Regions from separate parts of the Homo sapiens genome. Here regions 1, 2, 3, 4 and 6 are each linked to region 5. The links are contacts of gene promoters, found by promoter capture Hi-C in blood cells and fetal thymus (Javierre and others, 2016). All regions are on one chromosome and are shown on one strand. Each heading gives the region's core, a stretch centred on a gene start or on the middle of the fragment in contact. The rest is flanking DNA. Distances are from core to core; before and after follow the strand shown.

Region 1 (2,700 bases), core at 87-2,586, 700 kb after region 5:
GTCACAGCTACTTGGGAGGCTGAGGCAGGAGAATCGCTTGAACCTGGGAGGCGGAGGTTGCAGTGAGCAGAGATCGCGCCACTGCACTCCAGCCTGGTGACAGAGCAAGACTCGGTCTCAAAAAAAAAAAAAAAGAAATCACTTGATAAAAAGCCTTGATACTCAAGATAACCATCACATAGTACTTTTACATGAATTCACTATAAAATATTATAAATTTACTATAAAATGCCCTTTACTCAACTCTAAGTCTGCCAAATGAAAGTACTGCCAGCATTATTTTGATATGATACCTCCAAACAGATTCTTAAAACATCAATATATTTCCAAAAACTTCAAAGAGAGATGATCTAGTGCCGATACTAAGCTGCCTGTCAGTTAACTGCTAACTTTAAAAAATCGTCATAAACATCTGTTGCCCAGATATCAAACTCAATTAAAGTATGATCATGCACTACACTGGTCTGCATTATTAATTATTTGCACTCTCTAAAAGAATATGCATTAACAGTTACAATTATTTGGCATAACATTTAGGATTAAGGTATTAGGATATCCTAACAGGAATTATTTAGGATAATGCCTTCAACTTTTAAGCTGAGCCCAAACAAAAGCTTATAAAGAGCATTTTCTGAATTACTAAATTGGTTGTACCTTAATGAAAGAGTATGGCAATAATCGGTTTTTACTTTTCCACTTGGTTTCCATTCTGTGTAAACAGCTGAATTAACATTCCGACATCCAAGAGATTCTGTTAGGCCCATCCAGCTTAAGTTCACCTGAATGTCCATGTTGTTGAACTCAAGTCAGTTCATAATTTATCCTACCTTTACAATTTAGGCAACTTTTCGACAACTGCTCTTACTATAAGGTTGAACGTGCCTCCTCTCTTCCCCAAAGTCATAAGGTGACTCAGTAAACTGAAAGATACATCACTGTTACATTAAAAATTCACAATGTCACAATTTTTCAAGAGACAACAATATGGACAATTGAAATGAAATTCCTAATATTTGAACTCTAAGTTGTTCCATTTTTGCTGCTTTGCATAATTCCAGTAAAGATCATTCATACCTGTCTTATGGGAATGGCAGGTATACCATAAGACCTCCCAAAACTGCCAGCACACACACAGGCAGTCACATACAGTGACCCTGTACCTCAATCTACCATTTGATTCTCCAGGATTACCTTAGAAAACTATGTGTATTTTCAAAAGCCACAAAGTTACTAAATGGTGTGAACAATAGAAACCAAACTATAGATTCAAATTAATTTACTTTGGTGTTCAGTTAGTACACAATTCAGAAGAGACAAGAAACAGACACTGGTGTTTTAAGTTTTAAGCAGTGGTCAAGATACTCAATTAGAAAGAAGATTAGGAAAATATGAACAAAGCACATCTAACCTATTTAAGCAAAACAGGGAAAGTGCCTATGAAGACATTTCTCAAGCCACCTTACAATAGGGTTCTGACTTTAAATTTTGTTTACCCACCTTCTTCCTTTCCACAAAAAGGCAAAGTATTGGGGTAGTTACATAAAATCCTGCTTAGTAAGTGGAAGTAAGTATTGTATTAAGAGTTCCATCAAGGTCTTGATTAAGAGGTTAGAAGAGGATATAGGAATGCACAATTTTACAGGTATTAATAAGGTTTTTTTAAAAATATTAATACATGTAAAACTAAAATATATACCTAAAACCTGCCTTAGAACAACCCCAAAGTCTGTTTCTCTCATACATTTAACTGATGAGCTTCATTGAAATCCCCCTCCCGGTAGTTTTATTACAAGGAACAATAGCAAAGGAATCCAATAGAGATATTAAAACAGTAAAAAGCATTTCTAAAGATCGTTTGAGACTCATATTTATATTATATGGACAAGACTTATTATCAGAACTTGAACACCTATAAAGTGCTTTAAAACCAATCATTCTTGTTACTGAATTTATATAAGTTTGGGAAGCTATAGATTCCATTAACCAATATGATTTCTCTTGAAATGTTCTTTGTATATCAGCAATATGCTGTCTTCACATGTAGAAACAGAAAGCTTTCAGAAAACAGGGAGAGAAAAAACATAGTCACCCATAAAACTTTAGAAAACCCAAACTTGCCCCTCTTCAATGTGGCAATAAACAATACTGCCATGACCTATTCAATGCCATACAGTTTACAAAATGTTCCTGATCATATTGTAAGGATCTCTTGGATAATAAGAATTCACTACTTAAGAACCATTCAGATACATCTTTCTTCCACTATGAAATCTCAAGACTGCCTTTGTATTATAGTACACAGTACCAGATGCAATAAGAATGGGGAAAGCAGATTTACCAAATATGTAATAAGTTACAGACCCTTATACCAATGAGAGCTAGAACAAGCGGATTTCTAACAAACTTTTTTAAAACTTGGGGAACTAATGGGAAATTTTTCAGAAAGACATTCTTTTCAACGTGAGGATAGAAAGATTTGTAACAAGGATAACTAGCTTCTCATGCATTGAATATGGGGGAAACACATAAAACTACTGTTTTTGGAGGAAAAATTATTAGAAAACTTTAACAAAAGATAGAATGTGTTATTTCAGACACTATAAGCTCAAGTGCAGTGGCTATATAATAAAGCAAGGTGCCTATTCCTGAGGAGAATGTACTCAGTAATGATGCCGAACAGTGAGTATTAAATCTAAGCAG
Region 2 (2,700 bases), core at 116-2,615, 810 kb after region 5:
ATTAGCCGGGTGTGGTGGTGCAGGCCTGTAGTCCCAGCTACTTGGGAGGCTGAGGCATGAGAATCACTTGAACCCAGGAGATGGAGGTTGCAGTGAGCTGAGATCACACCACTGCACTCCAGCCTGGGCGACAGAGCAAGATTGTCTAAAATATATACACACACACACACACACACACACACACACACACACACACACATACATATACATATATATAAACATAAAACAATAAAGTTACTACTATAACAGAGTGGAAGAAAATCTGGGAAAAATAAAGGAGCAAAACAAGTAGTCTACAGTAAATTAATCCTGTATACTTTAGTGTTATAAAATTTGGTTACCTCTATTTATTCTCGTTCAAAACTCTGGACTTAATCTCACCTTCTGACTCGTATTCACTTGCTTTCTGCTTCAAGTCCTCTATTACCAGGTAGACATCCCTGTCCCGGACCCTGTTGCGTTCTGAAAGGTGATGTAAAATCTCTGTGGTCCGTGGGTTCACCTCATACTGTGGAATAGGATGATCTCCAAATATTTTTTTTAACCACGCAGCAACCTAACCATTAAAAGAAAGACAAATATTATAAGCCTTGTTTACTGTAATGGCTCGATGAGAATATGACAAAGAAGTGATCAAAAGCAAACTAAATGCTTTCTGTGACTATTTTGGAGTCCTACTTCACAACCTCACTTGTCTTTAGGGAGATACTAGATATCAGGAAATAAAAAGTGAGCAAGTACACAAAGAAACGTACAATACTGAAAATTACCAGAGAACAATCCGTTCTTTTCCAAATCTGCAAAAGCGGTACAGGCTAACAATTTGCCTCGCTTGAAAAACCTTAAAGCTTAATAGACCATAATAATGCGAACGCATTATTAGACCGTGCATGGTCTGAAAAAAGCAATTGTCCCTCGATCACCAGAAGCCCCGCCGCGCCGGGAGGCTCCCAGTGTTGGGATGCAGGGCGCGGAAGCAGTTCAGATGTGGAAGCCGCCGGGCTGAGCAGCGAACCGGAAGGCGGGTTTGGCTTCATAAGTCCCACTCCAGAGTCTGTGGACACGGGCTGCTCAACGCCTCTCCCGGGCCAGATCCAAACAAGGGGAGGCCCGGGCAGGAAGGGAAAGGCCTTCAGGAGAGTCTAAGCACGGGGGGCTTGCAGATAGTGACGGCGGCACTAAAAGACGGATGTGTGGAATAGGGGAGAGAAAAGTAGACGTGGCGCGCACAGGAGACCCGCTGTCGGCGCGGGGGTGTCAAAAACGCGTTTTCCAGGAGGCCAACGATCCCCATTCCCGCCCCATCACCTGCGTTTCTCTCTCCTCCTGCGGCTCCATAGCTGCGGCTCCCGCCACTTTACTAGGAACTCCTAGCGGGAGATGCGCCCCGCTCACTCCCTAGGCCCCGCCCACACGCCGTTGGCACCCGCCCCTCGCCGGGCCCGGGATTTCTGGGAGTTGTGGTTTTACCTGAGACTCCTGGCCGTTGAGCCCCTGTGCAAGGCTGGTCGAAGGCTCTGGCATTGCAAGCCTCGCTTCGTTGCCACTTCCCAGCTCTTCCCGCCTTCCGCGGTATAATCAACACTACGAGAGATAGAGCCGCCTAGAACCAGGTTGTTTTTTCTTTCTTTTATTTTTATTTCTTGTTTGAATCACTTGTCGTTAAAAAAAAGTACTTGAAACGTTTGGTTCTTGCTTAGCAAGATGTTTGTGTTTCTTCCACATTGATTGCATCCACTCAGAATTTATATTCTACCCTGGCAATATGAGCTGAGGCAATCTTAACTTGATCCGTTAGTTCCCCCAACCTAAAAACTAGGGACATTTTTTTTTTTTGAGACAGAGTCTCGCTTTGTCGCCCAGGCTGGAGTGCAGTGGCATGATCTCGGCTCACTGCAACCTCTGCCTCCTGGGTTCAAGCGATTCTTCTGTCTCAGCCTCCCAAGTAGCTGGGACTACGGGCAAGCGCCACCACGCCTGGCTAATTTTTGTGTTTTTAGTAGAGACGGGGTTTCACCATATTGGCCAGGCTGGTCTCGAACTCCTAACCTCATGATCCGCCCACCTCGGCCTCCCAAAGTGCTGGGATTACAGGCGTGAGCCAGCGCGCCCAGCTTTTTTTTTTTTTTTTTTTTTTTTGAGATGGAGTCTCTGTTGTTCAGGCTGGAGGGCAGTGGCACGATCTCGGCTCTCGGCTCTCAGCTCACTGCCACCTCTGCTTCCCGGGTTCAAGCGATTCTCCTGCCTCAGCCTTCCGAGTAGCTGGGATTACAGGTGTGCATCACCACGCCCAGCTAATTTTTTGTATCTTAGTAAAGATGGGATCTCATCAGGTTGGCCAGCTTGGTCTCGAACTCCTGACTTCAGGTGATCCGCCCGCCTTGGCCTCCCAAAGTGCTGGGATTACAGGCACTGCGCCCGACCTTTTCTTTTCTTTTTGAGATGGAGTGTTTCTCTGTCGCTTAGGCTGGAGTGCAGAGTGACATGATCTTGGCTCACTGCGACCTCCAACCCCCGTCCCCAGGCTCAAGCAATTCTCCTGTCTCATCCTCTCTAGTAGCTGGGATTACAGGCTTGTGCTAGCATGCAGGGATAATTTTTTTATTTTTAGTAGAACGGGGGGTTTCACCACGTTGATCAGGCTGGTCTCAAACTCCTGACCTCAAGTGATCTGCCTGCCTCGGCCTCTCAAAGAGCTAG
Region 3 (2,700 bases), core at 100-2,599, 720 kb after region 5:
AAATTAGCTGGGCGTGGTGGCACGTGCCTGTAATCCCAGCTACTGAGGAGGCTGAGGCAGGAGAATCGCTTGAACCCGGAAGGCAGAGGTTGCAGTGAGCCAAGATTGCGCCACTGCGCTCCAGCCTGGGTGACAGAGCAAGACTCTGTCTTAAAAAAAAACAAACGAACAAACAAAAAAACTGTAACCTGTGACATCTGACATCTTGTCCCTGGCAAATCCTGAACTCAGTATAAATGACTCCCAGTTTCCATAAACTGATAAAATTGATTGATTAGATAGATAGCAAATGTGGTCTTTCGGAAAAATGAATAATTCAGGTTTGGTCAGAGAAACAGAACCACCAGGTCTTAAAAATACACCCTCTGCCCCCAGCACGCGCGCGCACACACACACACACACACACACACAATAAAGAATTTTCTGTAAGGCTATCTGCATCTGATGCTGGCGCTTAAAATCCACAGGGCCGCAGGTGAGACAGAAAGATGGATGTGGCAGAGAACAAGTAGGAGAGAGCAAGAAACAACGAGCTAGAAATCACACACACAAGCTTAAGTCCACAGGACAAACTGAACTCTGTATTAGTTCTTGTTGCCTCTAACCTTGATGGTATAGATGTCCTATAGAACCAAACCTCTTTGTCAAACAGCTAAACATATACCTGGCCCAGGAGTCAGCAGAGCTGAAGAAGATTGGGAAGGAGATCTAGGGGAGAGTTAAACAGTTGCAGTCCCATAAGCTGCTTCACTACAAAGAAGTGAGGTGACTCAACAGATAAGCAACAATGTATGTAAACAACAAAATGGCCACTCTCCAAATCTCCTACAGTAATCTCTCTTGTGCCCAACCTTACAAGAAAGACACAGGAAAGTGTAATCACAGCATTTTGGGAGGCTGAGGCGGGTGGATCACTTGAGGTCAGGAGTTCAAGACCAGCCTGGCCAACATGGTGAAACCCCACCTCTACTAAAAAAAAAAAAAAAAAAAAAAAATGAGCTGGGTGTGGTGGCACACACTTGTAGTTCCAGCTACTCAGGAGACTGAGGCAGGAAGAATCGCTTGAAGCCAGGAGACAGAGGTTGCACTGAGCCGAGATCACTCCACTGCACTCCAGCCTGGGCAACAGCGAGAGATTCCATCTCAAAAAAATAAAATAAAATAATTTTTAAAAATTAAAAAGAAAGATACAGGAAAGGAGTTTCTAGGAAATGTAGTTCAGCCTGAAATAACATATAAGCCCACCATGGAAAGGTAAAAGATGGCATGAATACTGTGAAAGTTAAGATAGAGGTGCAAAACAAGCAAGAAGGTCTTAAATATTGACTGAGGGCAAGTTTCAAATTTAATTTTGTTTTATCTCATTTACTCCCAGACTGCTTTAAAATCCATAATCTTTGCGTGCTCATTTGCTGTAATTCTATGGGTTCCATATTTCCCATCTCATCTTCCAATTCTAGCTGGACTATAGATGTAGGTTTATGATTATCATGACAAAACTAAGCTACAAAAGGACTATGAATGAGGAACTCTTTTCTATATTAGAAATGATCTCCAGGGTCCATTTTTAAGAAGGAAAAAGGCTGGGCACAGTGGCTCACATCCGTAATCCCAGCACTTTGGGAGGCCGAGGCAGGTGGATCACAAGGTCAGGAGTTCGAGACCAACCTGGCCAACATAGTGAAACCCCATCTCTACTTAAAATACAAAAATTAGCCAGGTGTGATGGTGCACGCCTGTAGTCCCAGCTACTTGGGAGGCTGAGGCAGGAGAATCACTTGAACCCGGGAGGTGGAGGTTGCAGTGAGCCGAGATGCACCACTGCACTCCAGCCTGGACAACAGACCAAAACTCCATCTCAAAAAAGAAAAAAGACAAGTGGGTACAATATGGTATTTGTATAAAACATGAGGGAAGAAAATCTACCTACATTTGCGTATTTTAAAAATCTATAAGGAAACAAGAAATTAGTAATTCTTACTTGTGAAAAGTAGGAAGGTGAAAGGTAGAGAATCAAAATGGGAGAATGAACTTTTTATAATATTGTCTCATAGTTCTTCGTTTTATGGACCAATGTAAAAATCTTTCAAAACTGCATTACAATGTAACTATTAAAAATTAAATTTAAAAAAGAGTCAAGCTTCTTTTTTTTTTTTTTTTTTTTTTTGGAGATGGAGTCTGGTTCAGTCATCCATACTGGAGTGCAGTGGGGGCGATCTCGGCTCACTGCAACCTCCACCTCCCGGGTTCAAGTGATTCTGTGATTCTCGTGCCTCAGCTTCCCAGGTAGCTGGGACTACAGGCGCCACCACCATACCCGGCTAACTTTTGTATTTTTAGTAGAGACAGTGTTTCACCATGTTGGTGAGGCCGGTTTTGAACTCCCGACCTCAAGTGATCCAGCCACCTCAGCCTCCCACAGTGCTGGGATTATAGGCGTGAGCCACCACACCTGGCCCACAATTTTCAAAAATGGAAATATCGTAGGAAAAACTGGGCAGGTTAAGTAACAGATTACACACAGCTAAAAAGAAAACTAGCAAACTAAAAGACAGATTTGAAGAAAATACCCATAACGGCATACAAAAAATATGAGATGGAAAATATAAAAGAGGTGAAAGTACATCATGCAGAATCATAAGTCCTAATCAAGGAACTACCAACACACGTCCTCCTGGATTTCAGAAATGCTATTTATAT
Region 4 (2,700 bases), core at 154-2,653, 580 kb after region 5:
TTTTATTAAAAGAAAATGAAAGAAATGTGGAGTGGAGGTGGGGAGAAGAGGGGAAAATCAAGCTATTGTTGTAGCAGAATGTGAGGGAGAGGGGATGTGGGGAAAGGGGACCGTGCAAACACACCCCATTTATCACAGTTAAAAACAAAGCCCGCGCCGGCCCGCTGCTTTGTCAACCGCTGCCCGGGGCAAAGGCCTGGCGTGGGGGCAGCTTCCCACCTCATCCTCACACACAGCACAACACCCAAGGGCCGGACGCCCCGCTCCAGCCGGACCCAAGGAGGGCACAGCAGCGCAGGTCTGACTCTCCGAGGCGCGCGCGCACACTCGCACACATGCACACACACATACAGACACACACACACACACACACACGCGCCCAAGCATCTTGAACCCGTGTATGCAACTGTCATACAAAGACAGTTGCGGGGGGCGGGGTGAGCAGGGCAATAGCACAAGGGCGATGCACAAAAAGGGTTAAAGACGAAAAAAGGATGGGATGGAAAATCGTGCAAGTGCCCACGAGAGGGTGGGGGCTGGGGCATGGGATAGGGCAGAGACCCAGGTCCCAGCTAGCCAGCCATCGGTACTAATGAACAAAAAATGAATACAAAACACACATAACACAAAACACACATATACCTCAAAAAAAGCAAACCACAGAAAACCAAGCATGCTCTCGCGCGCGCGCTCTCTCTCTCTCTCACACACACACACACACACACACACACACACACACACACACACACGGTCATGTATCTTTCTCCTTTCGATCATACAGGGCTAGGTATTAGGGGAAGGGGCTGTGATTTGGGGGAACCACGTCCGCCGCAAAAAATAAAAAATGGGGCTGGGGAGGAAGGGACCCAAATTCGCCAAACCCTAACTTCACTACAAAAGCTCCCACGAGGGCGGCCGCCCCCACCCTCGGGGGTCCCCCTAAAATGGGGTGGGGGGAAGCCACCGCTCGCCCTGCGTCCTCGCGGGTGTGCCCTGAGCCCCCGGCCGCCCGCGGCGCCCGCCCCCGCCCCGGTGCCTGCGGCGATCCACGCTCCGAAGCAGACCCCGAAAGGAAAAAGCGATACCTCTGTTTCGCACAGAGCCAAACACTGGAAGCACGAGATAGCCGACGTGGACCAGGACCATCCTGGCTCCTCGCGCGGCGGCGGCGGCGGCGGCTGCGCGCGGGCCCTTTGTGGCGCGGCTCCGGGGCGCGGGCGCGGGCGGCGGCGGGGCTGCGGGAGCCGCCGGGGCGGGAGGCGGAGCGCGGGGCGCGGGCGGCGGTGGGGCGGCGGCTGGCGGGGAGACAGATGGCCCATGGAAAGGCTCCCTTCCCGGCCCCTCTCGACATTCAAAGGCGCTGGGGCCGCAGCTGCCGCCACACAAAGGCGCGCGCAGCCAATGGGAGCGGAGCGCAGCGCGGCGCGGCCTCGCCGGAACCGCGGGGGACAGCGGGGACCGCGGGCGCGCGGGTGGCGGAGGGAGGGAGGGGTGACGGCTGGAAGGGGGCCGGCGGCCAATCGCTGCGGCCCGCTGCGGGGCGCGAGGGAGGGGTCAGCCCCACGGGAAGCGTGGAGCCCAGCGCGGGTCCCTGGCCGCCCGCGGGCCGGAGAGGGCGCGCGTGAAGCGCCCCTGCACAGACATGGGCGGCGTGAACACGGAACGTGCACACATGGAGAGGGACGTGCACTCAGACATGTGGAGGTGCGTTCCTTAGTGCAGAGAGACGGGCACGAGCGCCCTTAGTGCACACGACCCTGAGGTCCCTGCACACCGCGCACGGGTCACTCGGGGACGTGCGCTCGGAGGCTGGCGCACGTGTAGAGCCTGACTGCGGGCACAAGGGAAGCTGGAATGCGAACAAGCAGCCGCAAACAGGACCCAGGCACTGTCACACAGACATGCACACACCAAACGCCTTGTTAACGCAGGACGCGTGCCAAGAACGCATTCTCAGAGACACACAGAGGGAACACACGATGCAGACACAGGTAAGACACGCACACTCCCCAGGCTCTCTGCCTGGCGCACCGCGTCGTTGCTCTTGGAGAGCACAAAGCTCACAATAATTATTTGCTGAATTGAAATTCACTCATTCACTGAGGTCTTTGCCAACAGTCTACACAGAGACACACTGCCCAGAAAACCCAGGGCCACTCATCTACCTTTTGCCCTGATCTGAGACAGGTACACCCAGCCATGTGCACAGACACGCCCACTTCCACAGCCAGCAGGCGGATATGTAACATCAGGCTCTGAGGCTCCTGCAAATTCACACGTGGAGGCGCAGCCACCGTGTCACATGTGCCCTGTGACAGTCCAGCTGGGGACAAGCAAGACCCAATCAAAGAGCCTTCACCGCAAGCTTTGTTGCCAGGAGGACGACTGAGGCGGTGTTCTTGCATGCTCAGCTGACCTTCTGTGAAAACTCCCAAGGCAACCCTACGCCTACAATCAGGCTCACAGTTCACACACTAAGGCCAGAGAATGCTTCAGGGGCCCACCCACGGGCAGAAAGACAGAGGACATTCCCTACATTGGGACTTGTCTTCAAAGCCCAGTGGTTTCTTTCTTTAATGAGTCTGATAAATAGGAGATGGTAAAAATCACAGTATGTGGAGCTGGAAAGAATCTAATCCAACCCCAACCTGCCCTCACCTTGGAAAAGGAGGGTCATTCATTTAATCCATGCTGTGTTGA
Region 5 (2,700 bases), core at 168-2,667:
AGAAAAAGTTCAGGGTCCTAGGAGAGGTCATAACAGGGGAATTTGAATTAAAATGTGGGATGTGGGTGAGGGATGGTCTTCCTGAGGAAGTGACACTTAAAGTGAAACCTGAAGGATGAACAGGAGTTAGGAACAAAGAAGAGAGTGGGAAATTATTCTTGGTTCAAGGATCAACATTTAGAAGCCTTAAAACTTGAGGGGAGGCCGGGTGCAGTGGCTCACGCCTGTAATCTCAGTACTTTGGGAGGCCGAGGCGGGCGGATCACCTGAGGTCCGGAGTTGGAGACCAGCCTGACCAACTTGGAGAAACCTCGTTTCTACCAAAAATACAATCGCAGCTACTCGGGAGGCGGAGGTAGGAGAATCGCTTGAACCCGGGAGGCAGACATTGCGGTGAGCCGAGATCGTGCCATTGCACTCCAGCCTGGGCAACAAGAGCAAAACTCCGTCTCAAAAAAACAAAACTTGCGGGGTGCGGGGGCAGGGGAGTGGAAGGAAGACCTGGAAGTGCAGTGCGGATGAAACGAGGGGTAGTGGGAAGAGGCGGTAGGTAGGAGGCTGATTAAACAGGGCCTTAAAAGTTACATTGTTTTAAAGACCTCTCGTGTGTGGGTTCCACCCAATTCTTCAAGGAAATTGAACCCTGGACACCGTCCAGCGATTTTTCTGGCCATCTTGACTCAGCATCTTCCTTCATCCTATATCAGCACATTACGGGGGGGCCATCAAGCTTCCTTCTATCTACTTACTCTGCCTTGGCGTTTGACTCCTTCCTAGCTATCAGATTTCCCCGACTTTTTAGCATGGCCCTTCTGAGCGCTCTTATTTCACTTCTCCCCGCCCCCAACCCCACCGCCTAACTCTCCCAACTCTGCAGTCCGTGACCTTCAGGTGCCCTTCAAGGTCAGAAAAACTCGGCAAGGTTGGTACTTGCAGGACATTAGCAATTCAAAGAGGTGTCACACAACCTCACCATTAGATGGGAACAATAGCTTACCCAACACCCATATTTAGATTATTCCGCCACAACTACTCTGGGGGATGGTTTTATTTGCGGCGGCTTTCTCCGTCCATAGGCACCGCGTGAAGGGCACCGTAAGAATCTTCCCGAATGCTCCTGTCACGCGTCCCGGCCGCCTCTTCTTCCTCCCCGCCACTTCCCGAGGCCAGGCCCGCGGATAACGCCTCAGTTGCGACCCAGCTCTAGGCAGTCCGCAGGGGCCTCCGCCGGGGAGGGAAGGCACGACCTGGGGCCGAGCGGGGCCAAGCCGCGGGGCAGCACGCCGGGGCAGGCGCGGGCGGGCGCTGTCGCCGCGCGGACTGAAGGCGCGGGCGGAAGGCGGTCGCGCGGGTGGGCAGGGGGCACCGCTAGGGGCGGGGCTTCGGCGCGTCGGAGGCGGAGCTCCCGCGCCGTTCACGTGACGGGCCCGGCTGTAGCGGCGGCGGCCGCGGCGTCTTAAGCGGCGCCCAGTGCAGGATGGTGCTGGAGGCGGCGGCGGCCGTGGTGGCGGCAGCGTCGTTGGCGGCAGCGGGAGTGGGTGCGGCGGCAGCGGCGGCGGCGCCCGCGGGTGGTATAAAATGGCGGATTTCGAAGAGTTGAGGGTAAGCGGGAGTGGAGAGCGGAGGCCGCGGGGGAGGGGATGGGAGAGGAGGTGGGGAAACCGCAACGTCGCCGGCCGCCGCCTGCTCGTGCCTCTGGGGCCGGTTGGCGGAGCCCTGAGCCCCGGCCCGCGGACGAACGGGCGCCGAGGGCGCGGGGGAGGGGAGCGGGCCGGCGGAGGGCACGCGGGCGGCGCGGGGGCGGCGGGCCTGGGCCGCGGCGAGCCGGCTCCTGAGTGCTGCCAGTGGTCCGCACACCTGGCGCGGGGGGTCGGGGCGCCCTCCAGGAGGGGCACATGGGGACCCGACATCCCGGTTCGCAGTGAGGGCCGATGTGGGAAGCAACGTTTGATCTTGCACCTTCACCGGGGTGTACGTGTCTGTGGCTATTCACAAGTCTGCATGCTACTCACTTGGTGGAGGACTGTTTTCTGAAAGCTGAAGTTGCGTTTAGGAATCTCTCCTCTTCTTATGGCTGATGCTACCGTTTAGTCAGGTCTGTCACGAGAAAAGGCCCCTTCTCCCACCCTTGCCTCCTAACATCTTCGAGGAACCTAATGTTTGGGGATCCCTGCCTTCAATAATCGGCCTTAAACCTCGATATTTTCTTAGTGTTTTAGTAAGAAATCTGCAAAGTCTATGTTGTGAGGTTTGTGCACCCCTTTTACTCTTGAGGAAAAATATTTTTTTCTTCTCAGTCTTAAAACAAGATCATAACTTTATTGTTGATACCCTTGTATAGCAGAGGTCTGGAATAGGGCTGTGATGGGGGTAGAACAGAAGAGACTTTTTCCCCCCAGACTGATAACCTTTAAAGTCCTAACTAAGTGTGACGAATGAGATGGATTTGTGTGTATCGCTGAATTACTGGCGACATAAATGAGATGTTTACGGACAGAAACCCTGATTTTTTTTTTTTTTAAATGTATCAAGGTAGAGATGAGTGTAAACTTGAAATTACATTTACTGCAACTCGTTTGTGTAACACTTATGATATTAGGATTTCTTTTTCAAATAAGGAAGAGGAATCCGGTAAAAGGTTCAGTTTTGTATATTTATTGTTTTCCGCAAGAGATGGGATGGGGGAAGGATGTTGGCTGG
Region 6 (2,700 bases), core at 44-2,543, 650 kb after region 5:
ACTTGGAAATTGCTCCAGGTACCACCTAATTAACTGAAGCAGATAGGGACAAAGAAAAAAAAAAAAAAACCTCAGAAGATATCATTGTTTAAATACACTCTATTTTATTTTGTCTTAAAATAGTTTAACCTTTATGCTACAGACTTATTTCAAAAAACAGAAAATCTTATCTTGCACCAAAAAATATATATATAACACTCTGTTTTATTATTTTTTCTCCAAAGACCATTAAATACTAAAGGGAAACAAAAACGAAATAATGAATGTAAAGAACCAAATTTTGTTTTAAAAACTAGAGTTGCACATTTGAAAACATTAATTCTAAGCAATGATTTGTCATCACTGCATCAAGTCCACGCTCACACTCCAGCAACAGCAGATCCATTAACTGCCAAGTGCATTGGTTCCTAGCCATACAATGGCTAACATTTCATTTTCACGGTAAGAGGAGCAAAAGGCTTCAATGGCCTCTGTACTCTTTAAGAAACAAAACAACAACAAAAATATTTCCTAGTTATCCAGTGATTTTTTTTTAAGATCACTACCTTTTAAAATTTGTTAAGAGAATAAGAAGTAAGTAGTGTTTTAAATAAAATGAAAAAATACAACAGCATCAGACTAAAATACGTGATTATTTTAAACAAACAGTGCACAATCTGAGGAAGTTTGGTTAGGGCACAATCATTTTTATATCTACATGGAAGTCACATCATACACATATTGGAGAACAGGGATTGGGGAGCTTGCTTTGCCTTAAAAAAGTTTAAAACTAAAAGACAAAATAGTGTCCCCAGCTTTTTCAAAAACCTTTGTGACAGTATAAAAAGCAGGTAACAAACTTAGTTTTAAGTTAGTTATGGTGCTAATCTGCTAAAAGTAAAGATGAACAAATGACTACATTAGTAAACCAGACAATTCATATTCATAATTGATAATAAAAGCAAAGTTTATGGGATGTTTGATTGCCAAGAATAAACTGAATGAAATAAATTGAATAAAAAAGAATGCATTATTCATTCAGTCTGGCCCCTACCATCAAAATGAAAAGACAATTACTGGAGAGCAGCAATTACAGGTTACATGGCAGTCATGATGATGCAACAGCTAGGTCACTGCTCTGTTTTTCACAAATTGGAGGGGGTGGAAACTTAACCAAGTCAGTGGCATAAACCAATCTGTGACCCACATGTACCATTTTAGCAGAGAGATTACTCTGAAGACAATGTCCTGTGAAGCATAAAGAACTACTTATGCTACCAAATGTAAAACTTTGATTAAGAAAAACCCCTTTAAAAGAAACTTCAAATGTCACAGGAGCTGTATACCACGGAATTGTATCATTAATACCTTGCCTGAAACCACACTCTCCACTCTTCTGGAAACAGCAATGAAAAGAGAGTTGAAACACAGTCTCTCTATAGTTATTAGGGGAAATGACCCAACCTAGTAGGGGAGAGCTGTCTATCTCTACCATCCCTTCCCCTCCCCCTCTGCATCTTAATATCCAAATCTCCGTTCTGGTCCATTAAGTCAGGCAGTTGGGAGCTGGACTAGGAATAAGTGAGGCAAAAGTGCAAGCTGACATAAAGGCAAAGGGCCAGAGAAGAGACTGGTTACAGCTCCACTCTGTTCCTAATCCACAGTGCACACAGCACGCCAACTCTGTAGAGGATGACTATATTAGGGACTATGAAGAAAATATGTCACACGGGAAATCACCTGCTGTGTGGAATTGGGAAAAAAAATATGTGGTTAACATAAGAACAGGTCATGCAAAAACATTCATTAAAATGGGCCTCTGCCCTGACAGTGGGGGAAAAAATAAGCTGCAAAAACTTCAAGTCACATCATCCACTCTATTCTCTTCTCTATGAATTTCCTGGAAAACACAGACCAGAAATTGTACATTTCTGCTTTGTCTAGTATTTTAATTCAAGTCAAAAACTATGTGTAACAGTAAAATTCAATAAATTAATCCTAAAGTAAAATGTGAAGGTCCAAGGATACACCAGTAGTGAATCTTCAGAAGGTCCTACTTTGCTCTGGCCTCTGGGTCTTTGGTTTTTGTCTAGAATTGTGGCCATGTGAGAGACTGATATATGAGTTGCTAAAGCTGGAGGTTCATGATCTTAAAAGCCTTATCTAACAAAAGCAGAAAATAAAAATAAAAAAAATAAAAGCTGATGAAGGACAGAGGCCAGATCAAATGAGATGCTATCAGAGAAGATCAAAGAACATATGCACAAATACATTCCTGTGGAAGAAGGAACATACAGGAGAACTAATGCAACAAGAAGCGTAAAGGAATAAACTTGTCTTTACAAAAAAAAAAAAAAAAGAAGAAGATGAAGAAGAAGAAGAAGAACAGGCTGGGCAGGTGGAGGCAGGCAGACACTGATGCATGTGTATGTGCGGTGTGTGTCATTCATCTCAGCAGCCCCCAGAGCACCCACCCCTCACAGTGCCTTATGCAGAGCAGGCACTTGGTAAATTTGTTTGCTGAATGAAAACTGAAAATGGTAATTCTCATACTCTTAATGATAAGAAGAGCCACCAGGGGATTTGGAGAGACAGGCAAAGGGCCATAGCAACGGTAACAATGGAAACAAAAACAAAAACAAAACAAACAAAAACCATGAAAAACAAAAGGTGAAGTCTTCTAAGCCAATATTACTTCACTCCCCCTGTGCAGAGTACATA

The links. The method cuts DNA at HindIII sites, captures the fragments that hold promoters and counts their contacts. A CHiCAGO score of 5 or more calls a contact.
Region 1: a contact is called between a fragment that was not itself captured here and the fragment with the promoter of PIAS2 in region 5, in 1 of 17 cell types (total B cells). The highest score is 5.2, in total B cells.
Region 2: the fragment with the promoter of HAUS1 here is called in contact with the fragment with the promoter of PIAS2 in region 5 in 13 of 17 cell types (non-activated CD4 T cells, total B cells, activated CD4 T cells and 10 more); the score reaches 15.5 in non-activated CD4 T cells.
Region 3: a contact is called between a fragment that was not itself captured here and the fragment with the promoter of PIAS2 in region 5, in 1 of 17 cell types (total B cells). The highest score is 6.1, in total B cells.
Region 4: a contact is called between the fragment with the promoter of ARK2C here and the fragment with the promoter of PIAS2 in region 5, in 1 of 17 cell types (fetal thymus). The highest score is 7.2, in fetal thymus.
Region 6: a contact is called between a fragment that was not itself captured here and the fragment with the promoter of PIAS2 in region 5, in 1 of 17 cell types (total B cells). The highest score is 7.0, in total B cells.

Annotation. Positions count from the first base shown.
Region 1 is chr18:46,216,908-46,219,607 of GRCh38, reverse strand. The region is part of intron 2 of ARK2N (arkadia (RNF111) N-terminal like PKA signaling regulator 2N); the gene reads right to left. Among named protein-coding and RNA genes, the nearest start is that of ARK2N, 44 kb to the right of the region's middle. The HindIII fragment of the contact is 1,440 bases long and covers 617-2,056 here.
Region 2 is chr18:46,103,050-46,105,749 of GRCh38, reverse strand. It overlaps HAUS1 (HAUS augmin like complex subunit 1), which reads right to left and starts at 1,365. Exons shown (of 9, transcript NM_138443.4): 1 at 1,309-1,365; 2 at 382-556. The coding sequence starts at 1,338. It also overlaps a transcript of ATP5F1A not described here. RefSeq lists an enhancer at 961-1,050 and a silencer at 1,441-1,540. The HindIII fragment of the contact is 1,925 bases long and covers 851-2,700 here.
Region 3 is chr18:46,197,778-46,200,477 of GRCh38, reverse strand. All of the region lies in intron 1 of ARK2N (arkadia (RNF111) N-terminal like PKA signaling regulator 2N), which reads right to left. Among named protein-coding and RNA genes, the nearest start is that of ARK2N, 25 kb to the right of the region's middle. The HindIII fragment of the contact is 1,587 bases long and covers 556-2,142 here.
Region 4 is chr18:46,332,721-46,335,420 of GRCh38, reverse strand. It overlaps ARK2C (arkadia (RNF111) C-terminal like ring finger ubiquitin ligase 2C), which reads right to left and starts at 1,403. Exons shown (of 8, transcript NM_152470.3): 1 at 1,086-1,403. The coding sequence starts at 1,146. RefSeq lists enhancers at 1,350-1,960, 1,961-2,572. The HindIII fragment of the contact is 2,733 bases long and covers 1-2,367 here.
Region 5 is chr18:46,916,224-46,918,923 of GRCh38, reverse strand. It overlaps PIAS2 (protein inhibitor of activated STAT 2), which reads left to right and starts at 1,417. Exons shown (of 14, transcript NM_004671.5): 1 at 1,417-1,602. The coding sequence starts at 1,579. It overlaps KATNAL2 (katanin catalytic subunit A1 like 2), which reads right to left and starts at 1,322. Exons shown (of 18, transcript NM_001387690.1): 1 at 998-1,322. RefSeq lists silencers at 1,158-1,897, 1,968-2,047 and an enhancer at 1,268-2,021. The HindIII fragment of the contact is 2,459 bases long and covers 733-2,700 here.
Region 6 is chr18:46,264,374-46,267,073 of GRCh38, reverse strand. It overlaps ARK2N (arkadia (RNF111) N-terminal like PKA signaling regulator 2N), which reads right to left. Exons shown (of 5, transcript NM_145055.5): 5 at 82-2,700. Among named protein-coding and RNA genes, the nearest start is that of ARK2C, 68 kb to the left of the region's middle. The HindIII fragment of the contact is 6,556 bases long and covers 1-2,700 here.